Regions from separate parts of the Homo sapiens genome. Here region 1 is linked to region 2. Evidence: promoter capture Hi-C in human tissues and cell types (Jung and others, 2019). All regions are on one chromosome and are shown on one strand. Each heading gives the region's core, a stretch centred on a gene start or on the middle of the fragment in contact. The rest is flanking DNA. Distances are from core to core; before and after follow the strand shown. Region 1 overlaps LOC107986931 (a long non-coding RNA gene). Region 2 holds the start of STC1 (stanniocalcin 1).

Region 1 (5,154 bases), core at 741-3,240, 280 kb before region 2:
GTATTTGTCTTCTATTATTAATTGCCCCACATGGGCACTGTCAGGCCACCAGTAACTTCCAAAACTTTAATTTCAGATGAGTAGGCAAGGGGAAAGAATTTCAATGTCACCCAGTTTGGAAACAGAAGGTGGTTTCCTGGGTCTTCAATACCAGAACAAGTGTGTATTTTGTGAACTGATAGGAGACCACAGATATTCAAAGATTCAAGATGATGCAAAGCAGATTTTATGTGCAGGGATTTTTTATGTCTTTAAAGAGAATACTATTGACACTCAGTTTTACTTTCAGAGAAGACTAGGATTTAAATGGCAATGGTATACTTCCCCTCTTTATATCATTTTGGGGCAAAAATTATCTTTGTCCAAATATTCAGCTAGCAATGTCAAAGGATAAAAGTAAAGAATGCCTAATATCCAAAAATAAAAATATAGTGAATACTGTAGGTTAAGTGGAGGAAAGCTATTAGAAAGAAACTCAGAGGGTTGCAGCCAGGGAGTGACAGTAAGAAGGCAAGTATACCAGCCTCTGTCATTTTGACAGCAATTGACTAATTTGCTCCAGGTTTTCTTGAGGTTTCTTTCAGTGTATTTATAACCATAAAAGCATTTCTTTTGGTCCCAAGATAAAAAAGCTTTTTACGCAATAGTGCATATTTCTAATGTTTCCATTGTCAAAACTGCCATCAAAGAGGGTTAGGGGAAGGAATGTCACCAACGCTATGAATCGGATTGGGCATTTGCTTTACCAAAGCGCTGGTTCAGAACTTAACCTAATTCCTATTGCACAGTTGATAGTCGACAGAGGGAAAAATGCTTTTTGAATGATTTCATCTTTTCTGATACCATGAAGAAGGAAAATATTTTAGACACCAATGTCCTAGGACATTTTATTCTCTAACCTGGTACCCAGAACTCATGCATGCATACTAGATTAGACACAAGGGAAGAGGCAGATGTCCAAAGGCTTAAGCGAATTCAGATGTTTTTTCTGTTTTTTATTAATACTGTACTCCAGCTGTTACATCTTTATACTGGTAAAGTCTCAATCAACACACAGGGTGAAATAGCAGAAGGTAGAGGTGTTCTGGAACATCAAAGGGCCAAAATGATATTTTGCACAAAATTAAAGATAACACCTAAAAACTGGGACTGGAAATTTCCACAGGTTGGCAGTTTTCAGAAGGAAAGAGTTACTGAACCTTATCCTCCTACTGGAAAATTAGATAGCAGTCTCATGACTCTACTGACCATTGGGCAATCCCCCATTGTCCTTAAATAAGATTGTGCCCAAGAAAATAAATACCAAAAGAGAGATAAAGTGAAAACATACATTTTTTTAAGCCTCTCTCACACACAAATAAAGTAGACCACAAGAATGAACAAAGTTTAACAACAGCAAAACAAATTAAAAGAAGTACCAGCCTTTGCTTTCCTGGAAGCTACATGATGCCCAATGATGACAAGCGAGATGTTCATTTTTAGTCTAAGAAATGTTTTCCTAGGACAGCTGGAGGGCATGGCTCAGTGGTCTGAACATCTTGTTTGATGTACCTAGACTCCTTGGAGCCATGTGCTGGAGTACTGGTGTGATTTGCTTAACTCTTCAGTAGAACTAAACAGAATTCCCAATTCTTTAGTGTGTGGTTCTCGGGAAGTTTGGGGAGAGATGCACTCGCCCTGGTTCTGCTTGGAGATAAAAGAATGCAAAGGATTAAACTTGACACTTTAGCCCCAAGTTACTTTCTTTTGATTGCTTACTGTCACTGGAATACCATATTTGTTGTTTATGTAGGGTCTTTCATTTAAGGATTTCAAAGTAGTCGCTGACACGGTCTGATGGCAGAAATGAACAATGTTCATTTAAGAATGAAAAAAATGAGACACCAGAATGCCACAGTAAGTTAAAGGGAAAGAGAATAATGAAATTCAGTTCACACATTGGAATGTGCACTCATTTTTTAGGACAGAGTTTTCTGGGGGAGGATACAGGTCAGATCAATGTGCATCTTGCATCATAAATAAAGAATTCAGTAAAGTGCTATCTCCAGTAAGGATAGTGATCAATCTGAAAGAAAATAAATTTAATAGCATTTTTGAGCCTTAGTTGTTTAATTTTCAAAATGATAGAAATAATACCCACCTATCCAGGTCCATGTAAGAATAAAATGACATCTGAGAATGGGCTTCACACATAATATGTGATCCAAAAATGTTACTCTCTTTTTTATTTTGACCCACAAGTATAGCATTATATAGTAAGCCTTTAAGACCTTCTTATCCCCACAACAAGAGGTGTGGAAGAGAGTATTTTTAGAGTCCTGATGGCTGAATCAAGTAATCTGGAAGTGACAAGCAGAGCTTCCTTCGCTTGTGCTGTCCTCTTTAACACAGCACAGCCTCCATTCTCTTATTCATTCCTTTACATATTCAATACACATTGAAGTGCTTGTTACGTGGTAAGTACTGGGGATAGCAAAGGCAATAAGTCAGACCCTCACAAGTGGTTTAAGAGTCTAGTGAAGACAGACATACTTGTATACAAATAATTACAAGGCAGAAAGATGAATAACACAACAAACTAAAGACAGCCAGAATATGACACATTTTCTTTTACTTACCAGTGTGTTCTACCCATATCAGTTGTTCAGGAACATATTTTCTGCAGTCAGCTATTAATAATGATCACAATTAGCATATAATCTCCTTTATCTGCTATACAACACAATTGTTGTCATCATTCATCACAGTGTTGTTGAGAGAATTATGTGAATTATTTCCATATCAAGCACTTAACACAGTGGCTGGCACATATAAAGCATTCATCAATATTATTCCATTATTATAATTATCATGGTGATATCATAATCTGAACATCATCATTATGTCATCATTAAGAATAGAAACATGTTGTGTTCCAACAAGCTTAAAAATGAGGTAAGGTCACTCGGGATGGATATGAAGTTAAGGTCTAGTCCCATATATACAATCAAAAGAGTCCTCAGATAACCCATAGACGCTTGATTTACTCAACCCCAACCTCAGGTCCAAGAGTGAAAGAGTCTTTGTATTACAGCTATTCACAAAGGTAAATTAAGTGAACAGTCACCTTAAAGGGCATTTCAAAAGACCTCCTAACAAATTCCTCTCAATTATATGTACTGCAGTTCTCTGAAATTCCTTTAGCAGGATATTCAGCTTGATAATGATAAATACCCTTGGAGAAACCAAACATATCTCTAAAGCAGTGGTCCTCAACCAAAAGGATATTTTTCTCCCTCTCCCCCAGAGGACCAATGTCTGGAGACATTTTTCATTATTACAACAGGGTAAGAGGAAGTGGACAAAATACAGGTGGTACTAGCATCTAGTAGGTGAAAGCCAGAGATGTTGCTGAACATTCTTCTATGCACATGATGGACCTCTCAGAATTATCTGGTCTAAAATGTCAGTAGTAACAAAGTTAGAAAAACGTTGCCCTAAAAAATATGTACTTATTTAGACCTACTTAGTTAGACATTTCTATTCTTTATCCTTGTACCATAATTTCACAGCATGATGTAGTATGTGATTGAGCTATGTCTTCCTGGAACAAGAATAAATGGTGGGATATGGGTTGGAGAAGGGATGATAAGCAAAGGACAATTACTTCATAAGGAAGCACAAGAAAGGAATTCAGAAGTGAAAATATTCCTATTTCCTATTTTACCCAAAAGCAATCTCAATGCCTTTCCTTGCAACAAACATTTTTAATGGTGTAGAATGAGCACATGTAAGTGCTTCATAAATTCCCTCTAGATGATTAATTTCCACTGTAAGTCCATGTCGCATTTTGTCATGTCCCTGAGGAAGATCACACTAGGCTGTTGAAGATTCAAGGGTTTGTATAATCGAGCATCTGCTGTGTAGAAGGCACGGTTCTAGATGCTTGAGTTATCAGTGTGAACAAAGCAAAGACACCTCTCCACGTAGAGCTCACATTCAATCAAGTTTTAAGTAAAGTTCAAGGAATTCTTGAACTTGAATGCCTCTACATATGGCATTATAGTTTTCCATCCTATTTATCTCTCTTGACTCAAAAAAAGAGAAATCAGTTCTAAGAAAGTTTTTACCTCCCTTAGATATTAATCTATTTCCAAGGCAACAAAGAAAAATAGATTGCAGGAACAAGTCTATCTTTTGCAGATCATTGGTTACATAAGGTTTGTAGTTTGTAAGAAACCAATATGAGGAAGACATCCAAGCCTGGGTAAGTTACTCCGGTCCAGGTTAAAAGAAACATAAGTGGAGGATTAAAAAATCTATTCTACCTCTTGCCATGTCTTAGGAGAAAGGCTTCTACAACAGGACAACTAGTAGCTTTTGAAATAGCCTGCCATGACTGTGTTAATGGTAAAAAATCACTTAAGCATTTAGTTTTTATCTGCATTACATTTGAAAGCACAGGGCCATTTACTCTGAATTCTCTCTGATTATTATCAGTAATAGCATTTAATCAGCCCTCCTATAGTCCCAGTCTTGGAAGATCAACGACAGCTTGGACTTGCCCTGTTCTTGTCCTATAAAATCCTGGAATGTATTCAGGCAGATAAATGTTACCTGCTTCACAGTTCTGTGAGGATCAGTACCCACAGAGGCAGCAATGTCACTGGGAGGTTTTGTGGGATTCTCCTGTCCCCATATTTTTCTAATAGACTTTTACTCATTTGAATGCTATTTTGAACTACGGAATTATTTTCATGCCTCTAGACTCTGCATTACATGTAGGAAGGGACTGTGATTAAATTATTTTTCCTTAGCAGCACCTAGCCAGTATCTGGTATCCATAAATATCAGGTAAGTACAATTAACCAATGGATTTATTAGTACATGGATGGAGCAAGAAGATGGCAGCCCAAGAAATCCTGAAAACCCCAGAAAAACAGAAATCAATTATTAATAAGCTTATTGGACATTTCCTTTAGGCAGAAATCTAGGGAAAGCTCCTCACAGCTTGTACCTCACATTCCTTATCCTGGTAAACATTAGTAGAATTAATACCCTTTTCTTTCCTCTGCTTCTAAAAGCCAAGTACTTAATATATTTATGAATAGACATTTATTTGTGGAGCTTATAAGATGGATGGAATTCCATGAAGAAAAGCAAAAAGGATTTGCA
Region 2 (4,924 bases), core at 1,666-4,165:
CTGTTCTTTTCTTCCTCCAAACCATCATAAGTATGATGAAATAATCTTGCCTAAACACTTATTTCCACCCATCATTTAACAATTCCTACTCAAGAGCCCGAATAACTTCCTGTTCCTTACAGGATAAAACTCAGACTGTGAAGAGCGCTAAGCAAACTCCTCCATATTCTCTCAGACCCCCAAGAGAAGTTACAAAGAAACCAGACATCACCACCAGGGCCCCCAAGACCCTTTTATCTTGCTATATCACAGTTCCAGACAGTTGCACAATGATTGAGGGCACTTGGATATCCACATACCATGACATTCTAGGCAGAAATTTTACACTGGGCATTTCATGTAGACTTCAGCTCCTTCCCCTAAGGTTCTCAAATGCATTGGCATGCATACTAGTTACATTCAAATCAATGGGCTGACCACTATTGTATTTCTTCAAAGGACAGTTTACCTGTTATTGGGAAACACTTGGCACACCTAGCAATGAACTTCCAGGCACAAGATAGTAAGTGAGCAAAATAAGAAGGAATAATAAATCAACATCAGAAAAAAAAAACACAAACACATCTTGATGCTTGTAGGACATCGTGTTCTGGTGAGAGCAACGGAGAGTTGGAAAAACAAAGTAGATGGCTGGTGGTAAATCATCACCCTACCAAGCCAAGCAGACCAACTCAGGGAAAGCCCAAGAGAAACAAATGGCACTGCCTTAGATGATGAATAATGGCCAAGGAGGTAGAGAATGCTAAAGAACAGAAGTCAAGACCCTTGGGAGGAATACGCATCTGTCCTCTTACTCCCTTTCTGGAAGAGAGCACTGAGAAATTCTATTGCCTTGCCTGGCATCTACTACTTCTAACTAAAGCAATACAAATAACCTTGAAGCTTTCCACAATACAAGCTTTGTTTTTTAAAAATGAAATAGCATAGCTTTTCCTAAATTCTTAAAAAGCAACAACAGCAGTTTACATCTTTCCCCACTGATCTTTCCCTCAAGAGCTTTCCCCCCATCTCCAGCCAGTGCTGCCTGAGCCTGTGTCTTACTATATGAGGTCCTGACATCCCGAACCTTTAGGAAGTATGACTGTGGCTGGTCATCTTCCCAACTCACCTGTAAGTACCTTCAGGACAAGAATAATGAACTTACCTTCTTCTCTATGTCTTCTCATTTATCCTCCCACATTGTCCCCTAGCACTCAGCCCAGAAGGTTCTAAAGAAATACCAATACTGCCTGTTAATATAAATTAAAATGTATTCTTGTTATATAATGTAAATCTGAAAATTCCCTTCCTTTCTTTTAGATATTTCCTGTATCCTTTATTCCTTCTATTCCTTTTTCTAGCAAACTTTCATACTTACCAAACAACCCTATTTTGTGAGGGATAGGCTATCATCACCCAGAACCGTCCGCCGCCCCCCCCCCCCCGCCCCCCACCACCCTATCACCCCACAACATACACAGAGCTGACACTTGGTTTAGTTTGTGGTTAACAGGGGTGGCACTCTTTCTTCAACTTTTGTTTGAAGGTTTTAGGATGCAAAGTAAAGCCACTGGCCCCATTTCTCTGCAAGATTATCCTGCCCAAATCTGTATGAATCACCAGTGGCCATTTCTCATCTACTTCCCCAAAATTATTAAAGGTTTTATTGTATAATACCTTCACCACCTTCCTACCCTAAGAAGTCCTCTTCTGGCTCATTAACCTCCTTCACATGTTGGGGACAAACCTCAGCATTGCCTACAACTCACTTATAAGAAAATATAAGTTTCTATACCAGGCATGATTTGTGATTGCAGTGCAATTTTCCTATTAAGTCTAGAGCTTATCATTCTTCTCTCCTACACATTCTGGTCTTTCTCTACCCCTTCTTTCCATTCTGCCCCCTTTTTTCCTACCCCTCTCCCCAAGAAATGAACTGGTTTCCATTCAGCAGGTTTAGTCTTGCTTTGGCCAGCTTATTGTTTCAAAGTGGTTATAAAGTTGCTGGGCTTGAACACAGATTATTAATTTTCAGGCATTCATGATGTCTCCCTGTTGAGTGTGGTATGTGCAGGTGTGCACATGTGTACCTGGGGTAACTAACACTCCTGGACTATGCAATTTTGCTGGTGACTGAAAAGATGAAGTCAAAGTTGATTTGATTATTGAAGAATCACATTATTTTAGAGGTATACAGAATGTCAGAGTCCAACTTTGGCGTTTTACAGATGGGAAAACGAGGTGGGGCAAGGTAAAAAGACTTAGCCAGAGTCATAGGTTGATCAGTAGGGGGACTAAGGCTTCAGCTCTGAGCTGTCATATCTCAGTCCCCCAAGGCTTTTCCACTCACATAAATTCCCCCTCAAGGGCTCAAATGTGTGAGTGAGAACCCAGGATGTCCACATACAAACAAAAATGCATCATAGACATGTGAACATGTACACACAGAGAAGATAGGGAGTTATTGCATTTGTAGCCTACAAAACAGAACCGAGAATGTGCTGTTAAAATTAGAGTAAAACTGCTGTAAGCAGGTTAAGTTCTCATCTAAAGAGATCACATTTCCCCACCATACCCCTGCTATCCATTTCCCCCAAGTGGCTCATTAGAAAAAAAGATGGCTAGATTTCAAAAAGCAACTTGGAGAGATTTCTATAGGATTTTTCTTTAGTTCAATCAATACAGAGTTATCTCTTACTTCCACGAAAATAGCTTTTTCACACATCTCTGCACACACAGTCACACACACATATAAAACATTGGCAGCAGGTACTTTTAATTTGCTGGAAAATATTTCTAAGAAGTCAAAAAGCTCCAGCTGAATTGCATGCCCTCTTATTGGCTCACCAGACCAGTTGAGGGACCTGATTGGTCCTTGATCCTGAGGACCGATAAGAACGGCTATAAAATCCCTGGGTGCAGCTCTTGGGCCCCCAGTTTGCAAAAGCCAGAGGTGCAAGAAGCAGCGACTGCAGCAGCAGCAGCAGCAGCGGCGGTGGCAGCAGCAGCAGCAGCGGCGGCAGCAGCAGCAGCAGCGGAGGCACCGGTGGCAGCAGCAGCATCACCAGCAACAACAACAAAAAAAAATCCTCATCAAATCCTCACCTAAGCTTTCAGTGTATCCAGATCCACATCTTCACTCAAGCCAGGAGAGGGAAAGAGGAAAGGGGGGCAGGAAAAAAAAAAAACCCAACAACTTAGCGGAAACTTCTCAGAGAATGCTCCAAAACTCAGCAGTGCTTCTGGTGCTGGTGATCAGTGCTTCTGCAACCCATGAGGCGGAGCAGAATGACTCTGTGAGCCCCAGGAAATCCCGAGTGGCGGCTCAAAACTCAGGTAAGCAGCAAACCCAAGAGCGGTTTCTCCCCCAAAGAGCTGTCCTCATTTGCCTCTCCCTTTTGCAACTGTGTCTGTGACGGCTGATCTTGATAATAAATGTGCTTCATGCCTGATGGCAATAAACTGCCAGTGTAATCCAATAGCCTTAGGCAGTGGAGCTCCTTTGTTTAATAAATTGCATGCAACTAAACGAAGAAGCTGGACGCTCTGCTGAGGGTATTTCATTGCATAAGCCTAGCCTGATTGCCTGAAATCTGGCACGTACCCTCTTGGAGGGGGAGGGGTGAGAGGGGAGGAAAGGCTTGAATGTTGGCATGCTTCAAAGCGCTCTCTATACTTTCCAGAAGCTGATCTAAGGTAAGACCTGGCTTGTTTGATGCTGTCCCTCTTCCTTTCCTCTTAAGACTCTACCTCTTCACTTCTTGACTTCTCTACCTAAGAGAATACACAGAAAAGCTCCCTCTTCAGACTGATTTTCAGAACCATAGCCCTCAAGTCTGACAAATCCAGGGCGGATTCAGAGAAAACCCTATACATCCCACCCCCAACCCTGCTGCCTGTCTCCCTCCTGGCTCTGTAGGGCTCCATTCAGTCGTCCCTGCAGCCCGTAGCCAGAGAGCCCCTAGAAAAAAAAAATTGTGAAACGTAGCAGCTGTTTCTCCAAGGGTAAGGTCTCACTTTCGTCTTGACTCTTGGAGCAGTTAATTGTGCATTATCTTGGCTTCTGAAGGAAAAGAATCATTAGGAAGCCTGCATTGACACCTCTGCCTCTTGACTTCTCTGGCTCCACTTGTTCCCCTTCCAATACTGCCCTCTGTCCTCCAACTGTCAGCAAAGACCGGATCACAGGTGTCAAAATGCTGCAGATGATGATCCCCTTGGAAGAGCACAGGTCCCTGCCGAGAGGAGGGCTTTTGCTTCACTTCCTTTTGTACTTAGTTGCTATAGAGATGCAGTGATTCACAATTCGAGCTTGCCTAAAACAATAGCAGCCCTAATGCATATTAAAACTGCTTAAAGCAAAGTTATAATTTAAACCCGTGGAAATATATAATTAGGGAAATGACTTGTAACATCCTAGAGGCTGCGGGTGGTGGGAGGGGGTGGGGAAGACTAACTGAACCATGCTTTTGATCTCAGAGGAGAATCCTATGGCATGAAGGCTGCAGATCATTCCTTGCCTAGCTGCCTGCCAGAACACCCCCCTTCTGTGGGAGAAAAATTACTTTTATGGGAGATCTTATCCAGAATGTAGAAAGCCTCATGCAAGTTTTTTGCGGTTTTCTTCCAGTCTTGCATAGGGAGGCCTTGGCCTGGTTATTCCACACCTGTGTTTCTTCTTTCTTTCTTTCTTTCTTTCTTTCTTTTTTAAAAGGCTTTTAATATGAAAGAGATTATGCATACCTCTAAGCACTGTCCTAGTGGAGGGTTGGGGTGAAACATGAACGGATCAGATTTCTTTTTGCCAATATGACGGTAAGTTAAAAGCCTGAAATCAGAAGGGTCTCCAAGTGGACTCCTGGCACAGTCTTCTCTGCCATTTAGACTAAAATCCCATGCTTTTTACTCGGGAGTGCATTTTTCCAAAGCTAGATGGATTCCCTGG

The links. The method cuts DNA at HindIII sites, captures the fragments that hold promoters and counts their contacts. A contact is called where the count stands out against the background at its distance.
Region 1: a contact is called between a fragment that was not itself captured here and the fragment with the promoter of STC1 in region 2, in 3 of the 25 tissues and cell types used here (heart right ventricle, mesendoderm cells and thymus).

What each region holds. Positions count from the first base shown.
Region 1 is chr8:24,135,823-24,140,976 of GRCh38, reverse strand. The region is part of intron 2 of LOC107986931 (a long non-coding RNA gene); the gene reads right to left. Among named protein-coding and RNA genes, the nearest start is that of ADAM28, 160 kb to the left of the region's middle. The HindIII fragment of the contact is 3,882 bases long and covers 50-3,931 here.
Region 2 is chr8:23,852,797-23,857,720 of GRCh38, reverse strand. STC1 (stanniocalcin 1) reads left to right here and starts at 2,915. Exons shown (of 4, transcript NM_003155.3): 1 at 2,915-3,315. The coding sequence starts at 3,198. The HindIII fragment of the contact is 6,962 bases long and covers 1-4,907 here.